Linked DNA regions of Homo sapiens: region 2 is linked to region 1. Evidence: promoter capture Hi-C in 16 types of primary human blood cells and fetal thymus (Javierre and others, 2016). All regions are on one chromosome and are shown on one strand. The core of a region is centred on a gene start or on the middle of the fragment in contact, and the rest is flanking DNA. Distances in the headings are between cores, read along the strand shown.

Region 1 (4,317 bases), core at 380-2,879:
TAGCAATTCCTCCCCACTGCTTTGCCAGCCAGTTGCTGCCCCGACCAGCATTTATTGGACCCGATCTCCTCACCAGCCTTTCTGCCTTCAGTCTCATCCCATTCTAATCCCTCACCCCAAGCACCAAGCACCTCCCGAAAAGTCCAAGGTTACTTATAGAGTCCAAACACTGGGCTCCCACAAGCTATTTTTCTGAGTTTGTCCCAGCCTGTGCCTTATACCCCAGGCTCACCGGATTCTTGCTCTTGCTGTCCTAAATTTGTTCATACACTCTTCCCAGTTTGGAATGACCTTTTTCCTCTGTTAGAGTCCCAACCAATTTTTTTTTTTTTTTTTTTTTTTTTTTTTTTTTTCCTGAGACAGGGTCTCTCGCTCTGTTGCCCAGGCTGGAGTGCAGTAGTACGATCTCAGCTCACAGCAACCTCTACCTCCTGGGCTCAAGCCATCCTCCTGCTTCAGCCTCCTGAGTAGCTAGGACTAAAGTGGTGTGCCACCACACCTGGCTAATTTTTGGCTTTGGTTTTTGTAGAGACGGGGTTTTCACCATTGTTGCCCAGGGTGGTCTCGAACTCCTGGGCTCAAGTGATCCGCCCGCCTTGCCCTCCCAAAGTGCGGGGACTGCAGGCGCGAGCCACCACTCGGGCCCCAACCAATCTTTTAAGATCCTGCTCAAAAGTCTCCGTCCCTGGGAAGTCTTTTCTGAGGCCTCTGAACTCACTTAAATGGAATGTGCCCCTATTTGGCACCTGGTCTCCTCCACTGAGATCGGGGCTTCTTGGGCAGGGTACGCTTAAGGAGAACTGGCTGCATTGGGCCACCTGCCTTAGCAGGGCCAACCAGCGGAGGAGCTGGCTGGGTGCTGGCCCGTCCCAGGGGCTGCGGAAGGGTTAAGAGAGGGCTCCAGAAGCCTGAGAAAGCCTAGGTTCCGGTTTAACCTCGGATCTAGGGCCACTGAGTCAAGACGGGACTTGCGGGGCCGAGGGCAGTTCTCCGGTGATCACCCAGGTCTCCAGGGCAATGAGAAAAGGAGGGGGCACTGCAGGAAACGTACAGGGGCGGTGTTCCTACAGGTCCAGAGCTCCTCCACCAAACTGGGTCCCAAACAGCTCTCCTACTTTCGGGTGGCCTCGGGAACGCAGGGGGAGACTTGCCAGAACGCCCGCCATTCAGCGCCCAGCTCCGTCCCTCTCGTTCTCGGCCGGGATCTCCCCGCGGCCCTTGCACAGCCTCCTCCCCCGGCCCGCCCTGCCCCCCGCTCAGCGCGGCCTCCCAGCCAGGGCGCAGGGGTTATCAAGCCCGCTAGGCCTTTACCCGCGGCTGCCCAGTTCCGGGAGCCGTCGGCCGCGGCCCAGAGGGGTCGGCTGGGCGGACGCCGGCGTCTCCCGCTAGCTCCCAGAGTCCCCGGCTCCTCGGCGTGGCGCTTCCTGCCCACCTCCGCCCGCCTGCGCGGCCCTGGCACCTGGCAGCGGGCGCGAAAGAGGACGAGCCCAGGCACTCGGGCCTGCGGGGTCCTGGGACGAGGGGGTCAGCGAGAGGGGCCCGGTGCTCCGGAGCAGGCGCAGGGCTGGAACCCCGGCGCCACCCGTCCCGCCATCGTCCCCCCTCCCTGCCTCCATCCCCGCGGGCACTGCCGCTAGTACTGCCCTCTGCAGGTTCCCAAGCGCCAGTGACACCCAGTGACCTCACTAACCACCTCCCAGGCTGGGCTGCTTGTTAGGCCCATTTTACAGATGAAGAAACTGATGCTCAGAAGGGTGAAATGACTTGTGCAGGTTGATTCAGTTAGGAAGTGGATGAGCCAGAACAACATCCCGGGCCTGAGTCTTCCTACCTTACCCCTGGGCCTCCCTGAGGCGCGGTGTCCAGGGGATTCTTCCCTCTGTCCCTCTCCGCCTCCCCAGCCTACCTTCAGGCAGAGACCTGAGCCTAAGGCTTCCTTGGGTTCTGCCTTATGTATCCGGTCCTCTTCAGAGCCCAGACCTATGTGTGTGGCTGCTGGTAACCTTGGTTAAGAAAGAAGGAAGAATGGGGGCTGAAGGACAACTTGCACCCCAACCTGCTCTTCGGGTCTGACACCCATTCATGGCCTAGCCCTGGGGCTTCCCAGTTCCCAAAGCCCCCACCCTTATCCCTACACTTCCACACACTTCCACACCCTGGGCTCACGTAGCCCAGAAGGAGGAGCCACCCACCACCCACAGCCAGGGCACGCCTTCGTATGCAAGCATGAGTGTACGATGTTCACACAACAGAGCTGTGCACTAGGGCACCCACAGAGAGGCTCTCCAGGGCAGGGCTGGGAAGAGGACTTACTGAAAACAATGTGGATGTTTCATTTAGACATTTGTTCATTCGTTGTACTGTGGTATTGGGTAGCACTGAGCACCTCACCCCCACAAGCCAGGTCCAGCACTAGGCCCTGGGCTGCCAACCACAGCAAGGCAGGCACCTCACTTTAATGGAATCAACTACCACATTTACAAATGATGTACTTCAAGGCCGAGGCAGGAGGATCACTTGAGACCAGGAGTTTGAGACCAGCCTGGGTGACATAGTGAGACCCTGTCTCTATTTAAAATGAAAATAGAAAATAAAAATATAAAAAACAGACAAACAAATGATGTACTTCAGTGGCAGAGGCAAGGCATTAGGAGAGTCTGGAAAAGGGAGTGCAGAGGAGGTAACATTTGTACTGGATCTGAAAAAATAAATCAGAGGACCAGCCGCGGTGGCTCACACCTGTAATCTCAGCACTTTGGAAGGCTGGGGGTGAGGGCAGATCTCCTGAGGCCAGGAGTTTGGGACCAGCTCAAACTCGTCACCATGGCCAACATGGTGAAACCCCCGTCTCTACTAAAAATAACAAAAATTGGCCAGGCATGGTGGCTCATGCCTGTAATCCTAGCACTTTGGGAGGCCAAGGCAGGCGGATTGCCTGAGCTCAGAAGTTCACGACCAACCTAGGCAACGTGGTGAAACCTCATCTCTACTAAAAATACAAAAATTAGCCGGGCTGGGTGGTGCATGCCTGCAGTCCCAGCTACACAGGAGGCTTAGGCAGGAGAATCGCTTGAATCCAGGAGGCGGAGGTTGCCGTGAGCCAAGATCACGCCACTGCATTCCAGCCTGGGAGACAGAGCAAGACTCTGTATCAAAAAAAAAAAAAAAATCAACCAGACGTGGTGGCATGGGCCTGTAGTACCAGCTACTCAGAAGGCTGAGGCACAAGAATTGCTTGAACTTGGGAGGTAGAGGTTGCAGTGAGCCGAGATCATGCCACTGCACTCTAGCCTGGGAGATAAAGCAAAACCGTGTCTCAAAAATAAAAACAAAAGCACAAAAAATTAGCTGGGCATGGTGGCACATGCCCATAATCACAGCTACTCAGGAGACTGAAGCAGGAGAATTGCTTGAACCTGGGAGGCGGAGGTTGCAGTGAGCCAAGATTGCACCACTGCACTCCAACCTGGGCAACAGAGAGAGACCCTGTCTCAATAAATAAATAAATCAGAGAAAGGAAAGGCAGGGCATCCCAGCAGCAGGGTGAACAACACATTTGCATTTTAAAAGAGGTTCTTCAAGGGGAGTAGAATAGGATGTGGGAGGGGAAGTATAGGAACCCCATGAATGTAGTCTCATGGGTGACAGTTTGGGCCTGGTAATCTCCTCTAGCTTCATTCCACTTACCTAGCCATGCAAGACAGTCACCTGGCAGCAGTTCCTGGACACAGCTCAGAGCAATCTGTTTTCCTCCCCTGTCACCTTCCCCATGGGTACGACAACCATGTAGGTTTTATTAATAACATATACTTTGACTGGCCTCTTGCAGACAGAAGTACTGTGAGTCATGCCGTGGGCATGTCCTCTGTTGTCTGACCTAGGATGCGGTGCAGTGGCTCACCCTATAATCCCAGCACTTTGGGAGGCCGAGGTGGGTGGATCACCTGAGGTCAGTAGTTCGAGACCAGCCTGACCAACGTGGTGAAACCCCGTCTCTACTAGAAATACAAAAAAATTAGCCAGGCTTGGTGGCAGGCACCTGTAGTCCCAGCTACTCAGGAGGCTGAGGCAGGAGAATCGCTTGAACCCAGGAGGCAGAGGTTGCAGTGAGCCGCGATCATGCCACTACACACTCCAGCCTTGGCTACAGAGTGAGACTCTGTCTAAAAAAAAAAAAAAAAGTTATAGCATGAGGCCGGGGTGTGGTTGCTCACACCTGTAATCCCAGCACTTTGGGAGGCTAAGGCAGAAGGATCACTCGAGCCCAGGAGTTTGAGACCAGCTTGGGCAACATAATAGAACCCTGACTCCACAAAA
Region 2 (4,377 bases), core at 676-3,175, 550 kb after region 1:
GGAGGCTGAGGCAGGAGAATCGCTTGAGCCTAGGAGGTGGAGGTTGTAGTGAGCCGAGATCATGCCACTGCACTCCAGCCTGGGCAACAGCGTGAGACTCCGTATCAAAAAAAAAGACGGGGGAAATGTCAGGTCTCCTGGATCAGCTGTGAAGGAAGTGACATTGAAAGGCCTTAAGGAGGATGAAGAGGAGAGAAGGAGACAGTGGAGTGAGTAGGATGGCCACTTCCAAGGGGCTTCTAGGCAGTAAGAGCCCCCAGAAAACAATGCCAGACCATCAGAGCCTGCTCAGAGCCAGGCTTAGCCCAAAGTTCCTGTCCTGCTGTTAGCCTTTAACTTCACCTCTAACCTCCACCCAAATCTGTTTTTCTCATTCTCCTAATCTGACAACTCACTGTATGAACTGATGCCCAGAACCCTGTTTCCAGGGTGAGCACACCTGGTCTGTCAAAGTGCTACCTGGGCCAACCGCTTACCTGCCTGCTAACCATAGTAATTATGGGCCTAGTTTTTATTTATTTTTATTTTTTATTTATTTATTTTTTGAGACGGAGTCTTGCTCTGTTGCCCAGGCTGGAGTGCAATGGTGCCATCTCAGCTCACTACAACCTCTGCCTCCCAGGTTCAAGCGATTCTCCTATCTCAGCTTCCCGAGTAGCTAGGACTACAGGCGTGTGCCACCACGTGTGGCTAATTTTTGTATTTTGGGTAGAGACAGGGTTTCACCATGTTGTCCAGGCTGATCTCGAACTCCTGTCCTCAAGTGATCCACCCACCTCGGCCTACCAAAGTGCTGGGATTGTAGGCGTGAGCCACCATGCCTAGCCAGGGGCCTAGTTTTTAGAGCTACCTTACACAACAGAATGGCCTATTGCTTTGGGTTATATTCGTGACCCAAAAGTTACTGTCAGCAGTCTTGTAACAGGAGCAGGCATGTCCTGAGATTTACCCTTGCCCCATCCCCATCAGGAAGTATTGTCCTCCTCTCCAGCTTCTCAAAACAACTTCCTCTTGGCATCATGGAACAATGCCATTGATACCCTCTCACTGCTGCTCCAATTGCTCTTCCCCAACAACCATTAACAACGCCATCATGCCCCAGGCCCTCTGATGGCGGGAATCAGAACCTCTTCTCTCCCCATAGTATGTGGAGACAGGTTGGGGGTGACCAGAGAAGAAAAGCAGGTTGAAAACATGTCTGGATGCTGAAAGGGTTTGGGATGTTGTTTAGGCACATCCAGATGCACCTGAGTACTCCATTCCCAGTATGGTCACTCAGGCAGTTACCATGGCAACCACCACAGCCAGCCTCCCCTGTGCCTAATACACACAAGCCTTTAAACAGAGGCCCCCTCCATCTGGAGGTGTCCAGCCTTACCCTGAGTGAGCCGGGTAGGCTGCCGGACAGGGAGCCCATCAATAGTGCAGGCATTGCCACAGGGGTAGAGGGTGAGGGTGCCCCGCAGGTTCTCGATGTAGCAGTGCTCTGGAGCCAGGCCTGGGCCCTGTAGTGAGATGTCTCTGGCTGCAGAGCCAATCACCGTCCTCCCTGGAGACAAGAGGCAAACTGAATCAGAGGGGTTGTCCAGGCTGAGGAGGCAGTGACAGGGCAAGGAGGGCCACAGTGGAAACATATTTCCACCTCCTACTCCAGGGAGAATCTCTGCCCACCACTGGCCACCCCTACTAGGCCCCTGAGCCTGGTCTATACAGTAAGTGATGGACGCTGTTCTCAAACAGAGAAAACTCTGCCTGAGAATGGGAGGCCCAGAGATGGGAAGACCCAGACAGCACACAGTAGGACCTAGACTCCACAGATGGAGAAGGAAGACTGCTTTTCTGCAGATCTTCCCTTATTCCCCCAACTGCCTCTCCCTATTGTCCTTTATCCTTTTTCCCCTTCATCCTACTCCTCATTTCTTCTAAATCTCCCTTTCTCTCCTTCTTCTCTCCCCCGCTTCTGCTACCTGCAACACTTCGTCTCCCTTGCTAACCTCTCTCTTCAGTGCAACCTCTCTCTTCAGTGCAGGCTCTCCCCTAACTGCAGCAAGAACAGCCCCTCCCGCTGACAGAGCCCCTGGGACTGGTATTTGGAGAATGTGGAGAATGTAGTATCACCCAGGCAACAAGTGCAGCCAGGAGAGTAGAGAGGGCGGGCAGAAGCTGAAAGGTGAAGGGGGCTGTGCCAGGGCCTCATCTTGGGAGATCTTGCCCTGACTCCCATCTCTCCATTCTCCATCTATGGTATACCCTCCCATGCAAGACAATGCCCTGGAGCGGGGCCCTTTTTCTTCTTGGCCACATTGGTTGCTAAGAGCAATGTGTTCTCCTGTTTCTCTCAGTGCTTTCTTCATGGTTTCTTTTCTTCTTCTTTTTTTTTTTTTTTTTTTTTTTTGAGATAGAGTCTCGCTCTGTTGCCCAGGCTGGAGTGCAGTGGCACGATCTCGGCTCACTGCAACCTCTGTCTCCTGGGTTCAAGCGATTCTTCTGCCTCAGCCTCCTGAGTAGCTGGGACTACAGGCCCGTGCCACCACGCCTGGCTAATTTTTGTATTTGTAGTGGAGATGGGGTTTCACCATATTGGCCAGGCTGGTCTAGAACTCCTGACCTCGTGATCCGCCTGCCTCAGCCTCCCAAAGTGCTGGGATAACAGGCGTGAGCCACCACACCTGGCCTCTCCTCCTTGTTTCTAAGCTGATCTTTAAGCCCAGTCGTGGAACCAGATCATCTACCAAGGAAGGCAGGCAGTCTGGGGAGGCAGAGACAAGGGAAGCAAGCTGGTGGTGTGGGGAGGCGAGCACCAGCAGACAGTAGAAGGGCCCCAACACATGCAGGAGGTGGGCCTCCAGGGCAGGAATGCCTATAAGGATAGAGGGGTGGTGAGTGAGATGCCCTGTTCACACTTACCTTCCTCCAGCGGCAGGAGGGTGATGGCTGTGCTGAGTCGCCCACTGCCCAGGCTCACCAGGTGGGGTTTGTCCGTTTGCACTTTCAGCCCTTTGCCTGTCTCGATCAGGTCCAAGGGTCCTTTCTGTAGGTAGTACGGGTGGAGGACAAGCATCATTAGATTCAGCACCTTACCACCCTAAACCAGTCACACCAGCACTCTCTCCAGCCCTCGCCCCTCTCCGAAGGGCTCTGAGGGTGCTGAAAGGCTTAGCACAAAATCTTACACAGAGCATGATTCCACTAAATTGTAATTAGATCTGAATCTAGGCCACTAACTCATCCCACTGGATTTATCGCAAGTCTTGGCTTAACTGTGCCTTTTGTCTATTAAAACAGAAGCAAGGAGAAAGGGGTGGGGGGTGGGGGTGGCATTGGATAAGCAGCAGGGGTACTGTAGAGGAAGGCCAATCAAGCTCCCTGCAGACTTGTCCATGGCTATCCACGTGGCCATTGCTTGCCCCTGCTAAGCTCAAGTACAGGGAAGATAGAGGCATGGATCAAGGAGAGTGATACAGCCCAGGGTCAATCTGTAAACTGCTTTCGGACTTTCGATGGGTAGTTTCTGGGTGAACCAATTAACCTGATTCAGATAAAGACTGAGCTGTTAATAGGCTTGGGACCTGGGGAAGGGCAGAGAGGAACAGAATTGCTCCTTTCATCCTTGGGCTGGGACCACAAGGGGGTAGAAGAGCTGATCCCATCCCTATTATATCTCTCTTGCCTCACAGCCCTGATCCCACTCACCTGCACCATGGTCTGGGTCTGGCATCCAGGGCCTATTTGGTTCCTATTGAGAGCGTCCATGGTCCTAAGGCTCCAGAGCTCCTAGGGACACAGCAGAAAGGTGGTGAGTGGGGAGGCCAGGGCAGGAGAGGGAAAGAAGTAGGTTCTGTGGCAGGGTTCTCAGGGCAGAGGTGTCACCAGTCACCATCATTCCCCAAATGCTCATGCTGAAGGGAAATAGAGGCAGCTAAAGAGCTTGGGTGGGAGTTGTCTGGGAGCAGTGCCAAGTCTCCAGCCAGCCACAGCATGGATACCAGTCCTGCCCCCTGCCACTGTAAGCACAAACAGTCCCATAGGGCCCAATCTATACTTCTGTGCTTTCTTGCCCTATGCTACTCAGAACCCGGGTTTTGACAGCTGAAGACCCTTGGCCCTGTGGAGCCTTAAGCAGGGTGGGGAAAATCTACCTTAGTGGGAGAAGCAGCAAGGAAGCCCCTCCAAGGACACTGGTAGCCAGAGGGCCCCCAGGTAGGTGGCAGGGCTAAAACAGGAGCTCCCTCCTGCAACCTTTCATTCTCCTCTTCACCATTTGTCTCTTTTCCCAGGGCTTTAGTAGGATGTTTTCTTAAAGGAGACACAAAAGAAAAACTCAGCCATTCCTGCTATCTCCAGATGTCTCAACTCCTACACCTTTTCTTCCCCAGA

Evidence for each region. Contacts are between HindIII fragments. The CHiCAGO score rates a contact against its expected background, and 5 or more counts as called.
Region 2: a contact is called between a fragment that was not itself captured here and the fragment with the promoter of NLRX1 in region 1, in 1 of 17 cell types (non-activated CD4 T cells). The highest score is 5.0, in non-activated CD4 T cells.

Annotation. Positions count from the first base shown.
Region 1 is chr11:119,166,037-119,170,353 of GRCh38, reverse strand. It overlaps NLRX1 (NLR family member X1), which reads right to left and starts at 1,629. Exons shown (of 10, transcript NM_001282144.2): 1 at 1,052-1,629. RefSeq lists enhancers at 129-833, 834-1,539 and a silencer at 1,111-1,720. The HindIII fragment of the contact is 14,996 bases long and covers 1-4,317 here.
Region 2 is chr11:118,613,213-118,617,589 of GRCh38, reverse strand. PHLDB1 (pleckstrin homology like domain family B member 1) reads right to left here. Exons shown (of 23, transcript NM_001144758.3): 2 at 3,694-3,774; 3 at 2,908-3,031; 4 at 1,379-1,549. The coding sequence starts at 3,753. Among named protein-coding and RNA genes, the nearest start is that of PHLDB1, 7.8 kb to the right of the region's middle. RefSeq lists enhancers at 1,105-1,621, 1,622-2,139. The HindIII fragment of the contact is 5,173 bases long and covers 1-4,377 here.